Regions from separate parts of the Homo sapiens genome. Here all the other regions are linked to region 3. Evidence: promoter capture Hi-C in 16 types of primary human blood cells and fetal thymus (Javierre and others, 2016). All regions are on one chromosome and are shown on one strand. Each heading gives the region's core, a stretch centred on a gene start or on the middle of the fragment in contact. The rest is flanking DNA. Distances are from core to core; before and after follow the strand shown.

Region 1 (4,541 bases), core at 1,126-3,625, 220 kb after region 3:
GTGTTTTATCTTTTTCTTTCTTGAAATGGTGGGTTTGTGAGCATTAAGGCCCTTTCTTGCTAAGACCCACCAGCAAAGCTGCAGCTGTTCCTGATGGCCACTACATTGAGATGTTTAAAATGAACAGCTAGGTCACCTCAAGAAGCAAATCAAATCTGACTTTATTTGGACAGCAAAATGTGGAGGCAGGTGCTCACAAGATTAAAGTTATTGTGCCACAAACAATTTATTTGCTTGTTTGTTAACTAGCTCATTCTCTTCCTGGAAGTTTTGTTTGTTTGTTACCTAAAACTGATTTTGTTCCCCTGAAGTAATGCTAACTGAATTTGACTGTAGCATCAGTCTGTGCTGCATTTATTTGCATAACTGAGCTTTTCCACTTTCCTTTTAGGAAAATGGTAAGCGCTGAAGCACAGATGATGGGAGAGACAGCCAAAGGAGAAGAAATCAAGAAAGACTGCATCACACCTAGTGTTGCACTGTTTTCAACTTGGGCATGAAAGAGAGAGTCTTCCAGGGCATAGCTAGTTTTAGGTTATGCATGTGGTGGTGTGCTGAGACACTTCCACAGGCAAGGATGGGACTGTGGCACTTTTAGAAAAGAAAATAACTCCTTAAAAATATTATACTATTGGCTGGGTGTGGTGGCTTATGCCTGTAATCCCAGTACTTTGGGAGGCCGAGGCAGGTGGATCACCTGAGGTCAGGAGTTCAAGACCAGCCTGGCCAACATGGTGAAACCTCATCTCTACTAAAAATACAAAAATTAGCTGGGCATGGTGGCGTGTGCCTGTAATCCCAGCTACTCAGGAGGTTGAGGCAGGATAATCACTTGAACCCAGGAGTCGGAGGTTGCAGTGAGCCCAGATCGTGCCTTTGCACTCCAGCCTGGGTGACAAGAGTGAAACTCTGTCTCAAAACAATATATATATTATATATATATAAATATATAAAAATATATATAAATATATATATATATATAATCTAGAAAATCACATCTACAACTTCCAGAAAAAGAAGGCTGAGAGATGGTTGTAGGGTTATCTCTACAACATCTGACAAAATGAACAACAGAGAAAAGAAACAAGAAGCACACACACGCATGTGCACACACATGAGCTCTCATTCCTCAGCCAATGATGAGAAAGGAGACTTTATGGCCATGACCTCTGCAGAGTGGTGCTCACAGAAAGAAAGAAGCAGAACAGCCTGACTTGGTTTGCAGAAGTATCTAGCCTCAGAACACTCCCCCAAATAAGGGGAAAGAAGTGGGTGAACAAAATCTTGAGAATTTTCACTGATATTTAAAACTTTAGAGGAAGTAATGACATTGATTCTTGCCAACACACGTTATTGAGAAAGGGAGGGAGACGAGGGAAGATACAAAGAAAACCTTAGAAAGGAGACACCCTTCACTCTGACTGCAGGGACAGGTATAGGGAGAGGTAATTGGGATCTTCTGAACTCACCACTTTCGTTTCTTCAAGGTGGGGGGAAAATAAAGGCAAAATTATTAAAATCACAAAGATCTAATAATTCTCCTGAATAGATAGAAACCTAACAGAAGGGAAGAAAAATGAGAACAAAAATCACATCTGTAATCTCAACACTTTGGAAGGCTGAGGCTAGAAGATCACTTGAGCCTAGGAGTTTGAGATCAGCCTGGGCAACACAGTGAGACCCCCATCTCTACAAAAAATTAAAAAATTAGCCAGGTGTGGTGACACACGCCTGTAGTCCCAGCTACTTGGGAGGCTGAGGCAGGAAGATTGCTTAAGGCCAGGAGGTCGAGGCTGCAGTGAGCTATGATCACACCACTGCACTGTCACCTGGGTGACAGAGCAAGACCCTGTCTCAAAAACAAAACAAACAAAAATCTCCAAAAGTAGGAGAGATGGTGGAGGGGGAGGAGGAGGATAGATCTCAGGAAGGAGGTGAAATGTCAGCCCCAGCCCTGGAGGGACTGAGCCATAAAGGCCAACTCAGGTGGAAACGAAGGCGCCCCGTGGCAGGCCACAGGAAACTGAGTCCAAAACCCATGGGCTCAATCCCACAGCAATAAACATCTCTGACACAAAATGTAGCCAAATTGCAGAAGAAATAGGAGTCTTGGTAGGGCAGTCAAGGTTGTGCCCATTCCCAGCTGAGCTCCCTATCCTGAAGTGGCCACCATCCAAGAAGGCAGGGAAGACATTGAGGATGTGGCATATACAGGCCTCACTGCCTGTGGGAGTGGCCTCAGGGAGGCTTCAGAGGCAGTGGGAGGATAGTGGGGCCTGTTTCAAAGCCTCAGAGCTGCCTCAGGTGAGCAGGACTTAAATATGGCAAAGTAAGGACTTCTCAGACCCCTCTTTTCTCTTAAACCATAAGAAAATGACAAGGAGACTAAGAACAGAAATGGCAATCTTGGTGTTAATAAGAGAACATCTCTAATGCCCAACTTCAATATGCTCGAAGCAGGGCTGCCAAGGGCAGGGGAAACTCGTAAACCTGAGCACACAACAGGACCAGACCTTGTACACAGCTGGGGAGCAGGGAAAAGGCACAAGTGAGAAGGCACTCCCTACAGTGTGCAGATCCAGCATGGCATGGGAGATCACGGGAGGAGCTGGTGAGAAAACTTTAGAGGAAGTAATATGACATTGATTTAAGTCTTTTGAGAATTCAAGAACTGTGATGGCTACTGCAACTACCAGCAGAAATACAGTAGAGCAGGCTGGAGAATGTTCGCGTCTTGGTTGCCATGAAAGCACACTCAACAGAGACAGCAAGCCAGGCAGCACCAGGGCATGTACAATTCAAAAGCAGTCTTATCTTCAGTGTTTGCAAGAAAACCTCCCAGGTCAGGGGCTTTCAGACTGTTTTGCTCTAGACCATTGGTAAGAAATACATTTTCATCACACACACACACACACACACACACACACAATTTACATTACTAAATACAATTTTTATTTAGAAGTACATACTCCTATTACATGTGATACATTCTGGTATCTTCTATATAATCCTATTCGATTTTCTAAATATAGATGTGGTGATAAGACCCTAAGATGATCCCCAGTGAACTGTACCTGCTGGTGTTGACACCTTTGGATACTCCCCTCCCCTCAACTCTGGGCAGGACCTGTGACTTATGCTCCTATGGGTTAATAGGACATGACAAAGGTGATCATGTGCCACTCCCAGGACTATATTATGTCATCAGACTGGAGTAAGAGAGCATCCTTGCTGGCTCAGTAAATGGAGTGCCACGTTGAGGAAGCCCATGTGGTAAGGAGCTATGGATGGCCTCCAGCAACTGTGGGCAGCCTCTAGGACCAAGGGTGGGCTCCCACCAACAACCAACAAAAGGCAGGAGTCCTCAGCTATACAGCCACAAGGAAATAAATTCTGTCAAAGGCCTGAATGAGCTTAGAAGTGGATTCTTCCCCAGTTGAGCCTCCAGATAAGAATGGAGCCCAGATGGCATCTTGATTGCAGCCCTATGAAACCCTGAACAAAAGACCCAGCAAAGCTGTTTGCAGATTCCTGACCTACAGAAACTGTGAGATGATAAATATGTGTTGTTATAAGCTGCTCACTTTGTCATAATTTGTTATGCAACAGTAGGAAACCAATCCAGCAGATTACAATCCACTAAATAGATTTCATGACCCCATCATGAGTTGCAGGCTGCAATTTGAAAAACACAGACTTGGCTTGGTGTATTGTGTCACACCTGTAATCCCAGCACCTTGGGAGGTCAAGGCAGAAGAATTGCTTGAAGCCAGGAGCTTGAGACCAGCCTGGGCAACAAAATGAGACTTCATCTCTACAAATTTTTTTTTTAATTAAAAAATATTAGCTGAGCATGGTGTTATGCCCCTATAGTTCCAGCTACTCAGGAGGCTGAGATGGGAGGACTGCTTGAGCCCAGGAGTTAAGAGACTGTAGCGAGCTATGATCACACTACTGCTCTCCAGGCTGGGTGACAGAGCAAGACCTCTTCTCTTTAAAAACAAAAAATGCAGACAGTAAACTGAAAGCTACACATATTTCTATATTCTACAGGAATGTGACCTTGTGATAACAGTAAATCTTATAAGTGTATTTGTTTAAAAAAATGGATTTATGTGCCTATAGAAGAGGACTAAACAAATGTAACATGTAAGTATTTAGGATGATGATTCAAAATAATTTTTTTGAAATGAGAGAAGAATCAAATCTGCAGATTTAAAAAGTGCACCATGTTATGGAGGAAAATGATATAGAAAAGTCATCACTCAGCCATACCCTGGTAAAGCAATTAGACTTCAAAAATAAAGAGAAGATAATTTGGGCATCTTCTAAAAAAGATCAAGTGACTCAGAAAGAGAAAAATAATAAGACTTGATTCCGATATCTCCTCCTCCACCATGGCAGAGCCTGCCAGCTGTCCAACAAAACCCCATTTTCTCTGCTTCCTGGGCACATAGCTCAACATTCCTACCCCCCCACAACCTCCCCCACCCCCTGCCAATGCAGATAGGTGGCCAGTAGTGACTTAGTAGCAGAAGTGA
Region 2 (4,843 bases), core at 1,733-4,232, 180 kb after region 3:
CTCTTGAATTGCTGTATATTTTTAGCACGGGCAACAACTGCAGTAGGGTCAGAGACAAACTGTCTGTCTTTTTAAGCTGCGGGAGTGTCTGCATCCCTCACTAAACACACTGGGATACGCTGTCATCTTTGCAGTTGAGGGGGACACATTGGTGGATGGTTTTTGCATTTGTGTGCTTTTTGTTGGTGATGTCACGATTTAAAATGGTCCCCAGCAAAGTGCTGAAATGTCTAGTGTTCCTGAGTGTGAGAAGGCTGCAATGTGCCTTATGGAGAAAATTCATGTGTTAGATAAGCTCAGTTCCGGCATGAGTTATATATAGTGCTGTTGATTGTGAGTTCAATGTTAATGAATCAAAAATATGGTTCATCCATAAAAAGGAAGAGGAAATTCACCAATCTGCACTTGAGGCTGCTCCAGAAAATGCTAAAGTAATATCTATAGAGCATGACGAAACAACAGAAAAGATAGAAAAGCAACTAAATTTATGGATTCATTAGCTGATGACTAAAGAAAATCCCCAAGCCCCCAAATCATAGTGGACAGAGTTGTGAGACTGAAAGCCAAAGAAATTTGCAGTCACATTACTCAGGGTCAGGAAAATGCCAGACCTCTCTTGGCTAGTACTGGGCTGGCTTGCATGTTTCAAAAGGCAATGTGGTGTGAAAAATGTTAACCTCGCAGGAGAGGCAGGTTCTGTAGATAGGGAGGCTATGGAAGAACTTTAAAAACACCTTCTAAGTGTTACATAGGAAAAGCGTTATTTGGGAGAGCAAATTTTCAACGCTGATGAGACTTACTTGTTTTACAAGGACGTTAGCAAACAAAGCTATATAGAGTAAATGGTGTTTTGGTTGGTGAAAATGTTATGTCTGGAGCCTGGAAGGAACCTAACCCTGTGGTTTAGCTTTTGCTAAGTTGATGTTTGCAATGACTTTATGGAACATAACTACCCCTAAATTTAAATGAGAATAGGCTGTAACTGTGTCTTTTATTTCCTTCTGTTGCTTTTTGCACGGGTTAGAGCTTCCAGGACTAAGTTGAATAGTAGTAGTGAGGGTGGGGACCTTTGCTGTGTTTGCTCCTGATTTCACGAGGAGAGCATTCGGTCTTTCACTGTTATGTTTTGCAGGAATTTTTTTTTTTAATCAGGTTGAGGGAGTTCACCTTTATTCCTAGTTTTCTCAGAATTTTTTTAAAATCATGAAAGGTATTAAGTTTTGTCAAATGCAGCCTAGTAATCCCTCTTCTAGGCATATATCCAAAGGAAATGAAATCTCTACCTGGTAAGGATATCTGCACACCCATGTTGCAGCATTTTTCGCAATGGCCAACGTATGAAAACAACCTAGGTGTCTATTAATGGATGAATGGATAAACTATGGCATAAATAGACAATGGAATATTATTTAGCCTTTAAAAAGGGAGATCTTGGGCTGGGTGCAGTGGCTCATGCCTGTAATCCCGGCACTTTGGGGAGGCCGAGGCAGGTGGATCACGAGGTCAGGAGATCGAGACCATCCTGGCTAACACAGTGAAACCCTGTCTCTACTAAAAGTACAAAAAATTAGCCGGGCATGGTGGTGGGCACCTGTAGTCCCAGCTACTCGAGAGGCTGAGGCAGGAGAATGACTTGAACCCGAGAGGCAGAGCTTGCAGTGAGCCAAGATGGCACCTCTGCACTCCAGCCTGGGCAACAGAGCAACACTCCGTCTCAAAAAAAAAAAAAAAAAAAAAAAAAAGGAGATCTTGGCCGGGTGTAGTGGCTCACACCTGTAATCCCAGCAGTCTGGGAAGCCAAGATGTGAGAATAGCCTGAAGCCAGGAGTTCAAGACCAGGTTGGGCAACATATCTATAAAAAATATATGAGAGCCCCATATCTATAAAAAAAAATAAAAATTAGCTGGGCATGGTGGTGTATGCCTGTAGTCCCATCTACTAGGGAGACTGAGGCAGGAGAATTGCTTGACCCCAGGAGTTCGAGGCTGCAGTAAGTGAAGATCACACCACTGTACTCTAGCCTGGGTGACAGAACAAAACCCTGTCTAAAAACAAAACAAAAACAACAACAAAAAGGAAGATCTGCCATTTGCCACAACATAGGTGGACTTGGAACATATTATACTAAGTGAAATAAGCTAGACACAGAAAGAAAAATATTGCATGATCTCACTTATGTGGGGTCTCTAGAAAAAAAGAGATCAAGTATATAGAGACAGAGAATAAAACAGTGGCTACCAAGGTTGGAGTTGGGGAGGAAATGGAGAGGTTTAGGTCAAAAGATACAAAGTAGCAAATAAATATGTAGAATGAACAAGTGGAAAGGTCTAATGAACAGCATGAAGACTACAGTGAATAATAGGGTATCATATTCAGGATTTTTCCTTAATGGGTAGATTATAGCTGTTTTTGCCACAGGAGGAATTATGGATAACTAAATGAGATGATGGAGATGTTAATTTGTTTCACTATAGTAACCATTTTCTTATATATGTATCTTATAACATCATGTTTGTACACAATAAAATTTATTTAAATAAACAAATTTTGTCAAATACTTTACTGCATCAATTGATAACATCATGTGAATTTTATTCTGTTAATGTGGTGGATTACATTGACTGATTTTTTAATATTGAACCAACCTTGCATTTCTGGAATAAGCTTCATTTAGTTATGGTGTGTAATTCTTCTTAAAAATCACTGAAGCCTATTTGTTAATACTTGTTTAAAGGTTTTTGTGTCTACATGCATGAAGGATATTGATCTGTAAGTTTCTTTTTTTGTAATTCTTTGTCTGGTTTTGGTATTAGTGTGATACTGGTCCCATACAATGAGAAGGGAAATATTTTCTCTTCTTATATGATCTGGAAAAAATTGCTTATTGTTAGCATTGATTCTTCCTTAAACAGAATTATCCAGTGAAACAACTTGACATGGCGATTTCTTTTTCAAAGAAAAACGTTGTTTTAATTTTAGAATTAAAATATCTATACATCTAATTGACGAAGATTGTTACAAAGAATAAGTTCCCTGTGTCTATTCACCCATTTCCCACTCCCACAGAGCAACTCTTGTAAACTTTCTTAGCTAACCTTTTGATATCTTCCTCCATGTCTTCAACAAAAATGCCTATATTGTTACTTATTTGGTTTTGCAGATTAAAAATTTCTCTAAGACTTCCCAATGTGGAAGATGATTTATCTCCTTCCCTCCTTCCCTTTCCTAACCTGACAAGCAATTTCTGTCTTCACTTTCTCCCAATCTAATTAAATAGACATTTTTTTCTTAAGCTTAGTAGTCAGCATTTTTATTAGTTGCACCTTTCCAGCTGAACCATGGACCATATACAATGATGATGGTGACGGTGGTAGTGGTCGTGACAACCACAATAGTTAATACAACCTGGGCAACACAGCAAGACCTTGTTACTACAAAAAAAAAAAAAAAAAATCAGCTGAGTGTGGCAGTGCACACCTGTAGTCCTAGCTACTCAGGAGGCTGAAGCAGGAGAATTGCCTGAGCCCGGGAGGTCAGGGCTGCAGTGAGCTGAGCTCGCACCACTGCACTCCATCCTGGGCAACACAGCCAGACCCAGTCTCTAAAAAAATAAATAAAATAAAAAATAAAGACCGTTAACATTTACATGGGGCTTTCTCTGGGCCAGAAAAAGATCCAAGGACTTTAATTTTCACAAAACTTTCACAAGACTGTTATAATAATCCTGATTTTATATATGAGGACCATGGAGATGAAGTGATTTGCCCAAGGTAATTCAGCCGTTAAGTGGCAAAACCAGAATTTGAACCCCAGGCATTCTGGATCTGTATTCTGTAGGTGTGGCCACTACCCTACAGTTTCTAACAAATTTATGTTTGTTCTTGAGTTAATAATAATCTTTTGTTGGTTGCTTATTTTTCCATATATTTATCACTTACGCATTTCAAGTTCTACTTCAGTCATGAAAAGCTTCTCTCAATGTGTTCAAACACATTAGCACTATTATTGTCTTCTTGAAAAAATATTCTAGAGTTCTGGGCTGTCTGTTCTCCAAGCCTGCTTGTGGCTGGCATCCTGGACTCTTTCTCCTGTCCTGTCCTGAGGACTCCCTTCATCTCTCCTTTGTTTGGAACCCACTGTTTTCTGAATGCTAATCATGTTCTTTGTTGTTTTATTTCCTCATTTTGATCAACAACATCCTCTCAGCTTCCAGAGACAATAGAATAGAAAGTAAATTTTGCAACTTCTTCATGTCTAAATATGTCTTTATTCCATCTTCACATTTAATTCATACTTTGTCTGGGTATTGAAGAATCTATAGGCAATCCGAATGTTGAAGATAATCCTCCATTGTTTTTTAGCTTCTACTGTTGCTGTTGAGAATTTCAAAGCCATTCTGATTCCTACTCTTTGCATTTGACCTGCTTTTCCTCTAAGGAAACTTGGAAAGTCATCTTTCCGTTCCCAGGATTCTGAAGGTCACTAATGATGTGTTTGATGGGGGACAAATCTCATTTAATGTGCTCCCCATTTGGTGGATCCTTTTCATTTGGCAAGTCAAATTCTTCAGTTATGATATATCTTCTTGAATTATTTTTTGATTCCTCCTGCTACCATTTTTTCAGTTCACTCTCAGAAACTCTCTTTATTGGAAGTTGGCCCTTCTGAAGTTGGTCAACTAATTCTTTAAAACCTTAAAAAATAATTAATATCCTCAGAAACAAAACAAAAACCTTAGAAATAAACAATAACAAAGGCGCTGATAATCACAAATTTAAAATATAATATCAGAAAAGTCACACTAGATCCATATATTTGACGACATTAAAATCAAGAACTCCT
Region 3 (4,971 bases), core at 2,329-4,828:
GAATTCAAGGTTTTAAAAGGCTTTGCGGGTTGGCTCTTTCACCAATATTTGCTGGAGTTTGGGTTTTCAGGCTCTTTCTGGGTCATAGATTTCTTTCCAGGATACCTTGTAGCAATTTGAGAGCTGGCATCACTTCCCGCTGGGTCCCAAAGATGCAGGAAGAGCTTAGTACTGTTGACTAGACCGCGGATGGACCCACCACAAAAGTTTAACCCAACCTTGACCCCAGAATCTTCACAAATGCTCAGTGAAGAAAATCCCCAGGACGACTCGGGCCTCTCTTCTGCTCAGAGATGTCAATAAAGAACTTCAGTAGCGTGACTTTCAACCCTAGTACCAAATTCCCTTCCCTTCTACCAGAAGATTCATCCCAACAACTGGATAGAAGAGAAACGACCTTCCAGGACATCAGAGATGGCTTGCCTCAGGAGTAGAAGTAAGAACGCTGCTACCTATGCAGAAAGGAAGTATGGCAAAATTGAGATACCTGTTACTCAACAGATGTTCTTGGCTTGAAAAACTAGTAGACACTGGGCCAAAGGGAGAGTTCAGAATGAATCAAGAAGGGAACCATTCAAATGTGGCTGCAGTTTCTGTTATCATAGATAGCCTGAGAATGCTACAACAGGGAATCATGACACCAAGCCAATTCAACCATAAACTGTCATTCTTGTACTTTTTTTTTCTTGCTGGTAATTTTATGTATTAGGTTGAGAAAGCTAATCTATGTTAGAAGAGCCTGTATACCAATAATTTTAATAAACAGTTCTGTGATTTTTTTGGGTATATTTTCATTTCTACCATACCACCAATAATTTATCAGAGATCTATGTAGCTTGAATGTATTTGAGTAACTTCAACATACTTCAGCTCTCCTCCCTGATGTGACCCAAAGAGCCAGTAGGTCCTAAGTGTCCTATGTGTGTTAGAAGCCTGAAGTCAGTGAGATGAAGCCCAACCCAAGAGTTCAAGTAAAGCAACTTGTGGGGCAAGAATATAAAGAAAACAGTGGGTAGTTTGGCAAGAGCATAATTATTAAATTTTCTGGTTTTCAAAAATGTGAACTCCAATAAGAGGACCTTCAATGTGCTGTTTTTGCAATTTTCAGTAACAAATGTGTGTACAGAGAAAATAAAACTGACATATTTGAGTAGCTTTAAAAAAAAACTTTTTTTAAAAAAAGGCTGCATGATGAATCAGTTATGTGGCTTTGGACCAGTAAGGAGTCAATTTCAACCCAGACTGTTCTGACTTGGAAGGCCATTGTGATTCCATGTCTAACTCCAGAATATTGTTTTCACAATACCATAACATCTTCTAAACTGAACAAAATACTTGCACGAAATAGTTGATTCTCTTCTTCCAATTTCTTTTCATTCATGGAAAGGGAAAGAAGACACATTGAATTAAGCATCCAACAAATATAAATACAGCATTAACATTTAAATGCTATCTCAGCAAATATTTTAAAGGATAAACCAAAAGAATGTATATCGAATATACTAGAAAAAAGATGCTAGCAATGAAGGAGTGCAACCAGTAACGTTGTAACTATGTGCAATCAGGTAAGTCACTGGAAGTGAAAACCACCTAAACCTCTGGCAGCTAAAACCAAATTAGTAACTCTCATCAATATGATAGCCAAATTTGAGACACTACCCACGAAATGCAGAGGGGCACACATCAGGCACATCAATATTGTGACCCCTCAGTTCACAAGTAAGGGAGACACACAATTATCTGAGATACACTTTAAGGACACCAATGACCAACATATGGCATCGCAATGGCTGTTCCAGGGAACATCCATTTTCACTGTTTCCTGGATTTCAGGCATAGAAAGATGACTGAAGACATATAGTGGCCCTTTTGCCTTGACCCAGTTCATAACCATTGTAAAAGTAACCATTTCACTACTCAAAAGATTATAAAGAAACTATTTTTCCTAAGAATCTAGGATCTACTACCTATAATTCTGGCATACACATTCTTTACAACCTTAATATATAATTATCAAATCTGATAACGAACGTTCTGTAAATTACCAGGTACTACAATATTTTGGTGTTTGCCTTTTAACTAAAGCTGAGGGGGGAGAGTGGGGAGGTTGGAAGAAGCCTCATTTCACCTGCCCTTTCCAAAATTTCACTTCAAAAGAGTGTTAAAAAAAACTCAGTATATCCAGGTATAAATCTCCAAGTTTAATTTTCACTGCTTAACAAAAGCGATGTAGAAAGCAATTACTGTACCCTCCATTAATCCTTTCGGATTGCATGGAATTCCTTCCAGAAAATTCCAATAGAAAAAAAGTTAAGACAGGTAATCGCGTTTTGGTACGTGTGTCGTCTCTGGCACAAGTCATGTAGAGTGAAATCCTTTAAGACATTTAAATGTTCCTGGTATTGTTTTGTGATTAACGTGATAAAATTGCCAAACAATCCATATTTACCATGAGTGAAAACACTTCCACCACGTACGGAAAATCTCTCCAAAACACAAAATCTGATTCAAAAATTATAAGTAAAAAGAGAATAAATGTAAAAACAATTCCATAAACAAACTTTGAAATGCGTATACGATGACATTACTGAAGCCATTACTCAAAACGAACCTCTGTAAAATCGAGAACGCACAATCAATGCAATAAAATGCTCGAGAAAGCCAAACCCGAGGCGCTGCGCAGTTCCCGCATCGCACAATTCGTTTCAACACATTCCTTGACGAATACACCCAAGGTCACTCACGATGGAGAGGAAAAGTGCCTGTCTCTCTCCAGAGCACGCAACCCGTTCGCCGCGCCCCCACGGAGGGCGGCGAAGAGACGGCGCATCAGGAAAGGGGCTGCGCGGGCGCGAGGACTGGCCGGTGGGCGTTCCGGCGCCGCGAACCGCGGAGCCTGCAACTTACAAGGTCCGCGGCCATCCCCCGGGCCTGGGAGGGGTGGCCCCAGGGCAGGCCCGCGTCCCCGGGGTGACCCGACCCGTCGCGCCGGGGTCCCGCCCCTCCCCCCGCCCCGCCCCCGTCGCCGGCCCGGGATTATGCAACGTTCCCCCTCCCCGCCTGCATTCTGGCGCAGCGCCCCCTCCCCGCGCCCGACTGCGCAGCGCCGCCGCCCCCTGCCCGCCGGCCTCCCCGCCCGGCTCCAAACAAAGCGCGCGCTAAGGGGCCGGCGGCGGCCGGGGAACTGGGGACGAGAGGGTGGCGGCCATGTTGGCGGGGGGCGGCGGGGATGGGGGCACGGAGGAGTAGGGGCCGGCGAACAAAGGAGCGCGCGCCCGCCCCGAGGCCCAGGCCCGCCCAGCCCGGGTCCCCGCCGCGGCCCAGCCGGCAGGGGGCGCTATGCGGGCGCCGCCCGCTGGACAATGCTCCGCCGGGCCCCGCGCGGGCCGCGCTCACCTGCGCCCCCGGGCAGACCGCCGCACCGCTGGCCCGCCCGCAGCCCGCACTCCCTCACGACCCACGCCCGCCCTGCGCGGGCCTCACCTGCTGACCGCCGAGGCTGCAGTCCACAGGCCCACGGGTTCCGCCGTCGCTCGTTCGCGCTCCCGCCGGCCCCAGCCTGAGCCAGACGGCGCCTCCCCGCCCCCGCTCCCTCGCCGCGGACGCCGCCCGCCCCCCAACAGTCAGGGCGCACGCGCACTGCGCCCGCCGAACTGCGACGGCCGCGCCGCCCCGGCGCCTGGCGCCGACGGCCGACTGCGCAGGCGCAGTGGGGCGGGGCGGGGCCGGCGAGGGCGGGGCCTGGCCCCTCTCACCTGGCTGGCGGCAGGGCGGGGCTCGAGCCCGGGACTGCCAGGTGCGCGCCGGGAATGGGCGGCGGCAGGCGCGCGGGGCACAGGTTCCTGAGGGGGCGCAGCTTTTCCTGGAAGGCAGGCAGCCTGAGAAGGGCTTCGTTTTTGCGCAGTAGGACGTTGAAGAAAGGACAAGCCCCCTTTGTCCTGGACGTAAGCCGCAAGTCGTCCTGAGTGGTGCACACCGCGAAGACTGAGGAAACTGGATCACAGGGCTGGGCCGTGAGCCTTGAACCTCGGAGAACGTCGCATTACTGCTCCAGCGCGCCGGTTCAGGGCCGCGGGACGCGAGCCCTTTAAAAGGATGGATTTGCTTCCTGTGACTCCCTGGAAGAGACGTCTTCACCACCGCACTGCGTAGAGGCCGGCGTCGTCGCCGGCTCACCCCGCTTGCTGCCTCCCCGCACAAAGCCCAGCCCAGGTAGCTCAGGTTAGCTGGAGCCCCGGAGCCTCACCTACAAGTACCTGGCCTGTCCTAGGTTGTGTGGGGACGGGATGTGGCTTCTGCAAGCCCAGAAACCTGTTTCCACTCCCCCACCACAAATGGAACTCACCCAGCTCTACTCGCAAGGTTAGGAGCCAAAAATTCCCATGATCGCACGCGAATTCATTTGACTTCCGTTTCAGTTAAGATGCCTTTTCAGCATTTTGTTGCTTGTTTGCAGAAGGGAGAGAGGTAGGATCAAGAATAGTTTTTACTCCTGCAGAGTCGAGTGCGAGACTTGGAGGCTGAGTCCAGGCGCTCTCCCCTCCCCGCCAGTCCCGTGTCCTGGAGCAGGTCACTGACCTGGTTCCTCGAGTGCGACAGCGCAGCCTCATCGTAATAAACCGCCTCCCAAAGCGTTGTCAGATCAAATTCCAGAACATGTTACTGGAAAGCACCTTGAACACTCTAAACTGCAGCACAGTTATTAGTTAGCAATACTCTTTGGGGTTTCACTGGCACCTTTTCTAACAAATAAGATTGATAGATGCCTGCTCAAACAAATTGAAGTGCTTGTCTCAGATGACACACTTGGCAGGCATGGGACGTTCACAGGCCAACTAGAGAGCTAATTTCAAAACTGAGATATAAAAGTGTATCGCTGTACTTACAAGTTACCAAGTGTTGAGAAATTACTCACTTTCATTTGTGTGTTTAATGTCTTTTTTGTTTTTTTAGACGGAGTCTCACTCTGTT

Evidence for each region. Contacts are between HindIII fragments. The CHiCAGO score rates a contact against its expected background, and 5 or more counts as called.
Region 1: a contact is called between a fragment that was not itself captured here and the fragment with the promoter of SPIN1 in region 3, in 1 of 17 cell types (M2 macrophages). The highest score is 5.8, in M2 macrophages.
Region 2: a contact is called between a fragment that was not itself captured here and the fragment with the promoter of SPIN1 in region 3, in 1 of 17 cell types (total CD8 T cells). The highest score is 5.8, in total CD8 T cells.

The regions. Positions count from the first base shown.
Region 1 is chr9:88,161,743-88,166,283 of GRCh38, reverse strand. No RefSeq gene overlaps it. Among named protein-coding and RNA genes, the nearest start is that of SPATA31C2, 26 kb to the right of the region's middle. The HindIII fragment of the contact is 5,131 bases long and covers 1-4,541 here.
Region 2 is chr9:88,211,169-88,216,011 of GRCh38, reverse strand. No RefSeq gene overlaps it. Among named protein-coding and RNA genes, the nearest start is that of SPATA31C2, 75 kb to the right of the region's middle. The HindIII fragment of the contact is 629 bases long and covers 2,668-3,296 here.
Region 3 is chr9:88,387,051-88,392,021 of GRCh38, reverse strand. It overlaps SPIN1 (spindlin 1), which reads right to left and starts at 3,578. Exons shown (of 6, transcript NM_006717.3): 1 at 3,484-3,578. LOC124902204 (a long non-coding RNA gene) reads left to right here and starts at 2,823. Exons shown (of 2, transcript XR_007061652.1): 1 at 2,823-2,910; 2 at 3,905-4,971. RefSeq lists a silencer at 2,926-3,825 and an enhancer at 3,903-4,762. The HindIII fragment of the contact is 9,781 bases long and covers 1-4,971 here.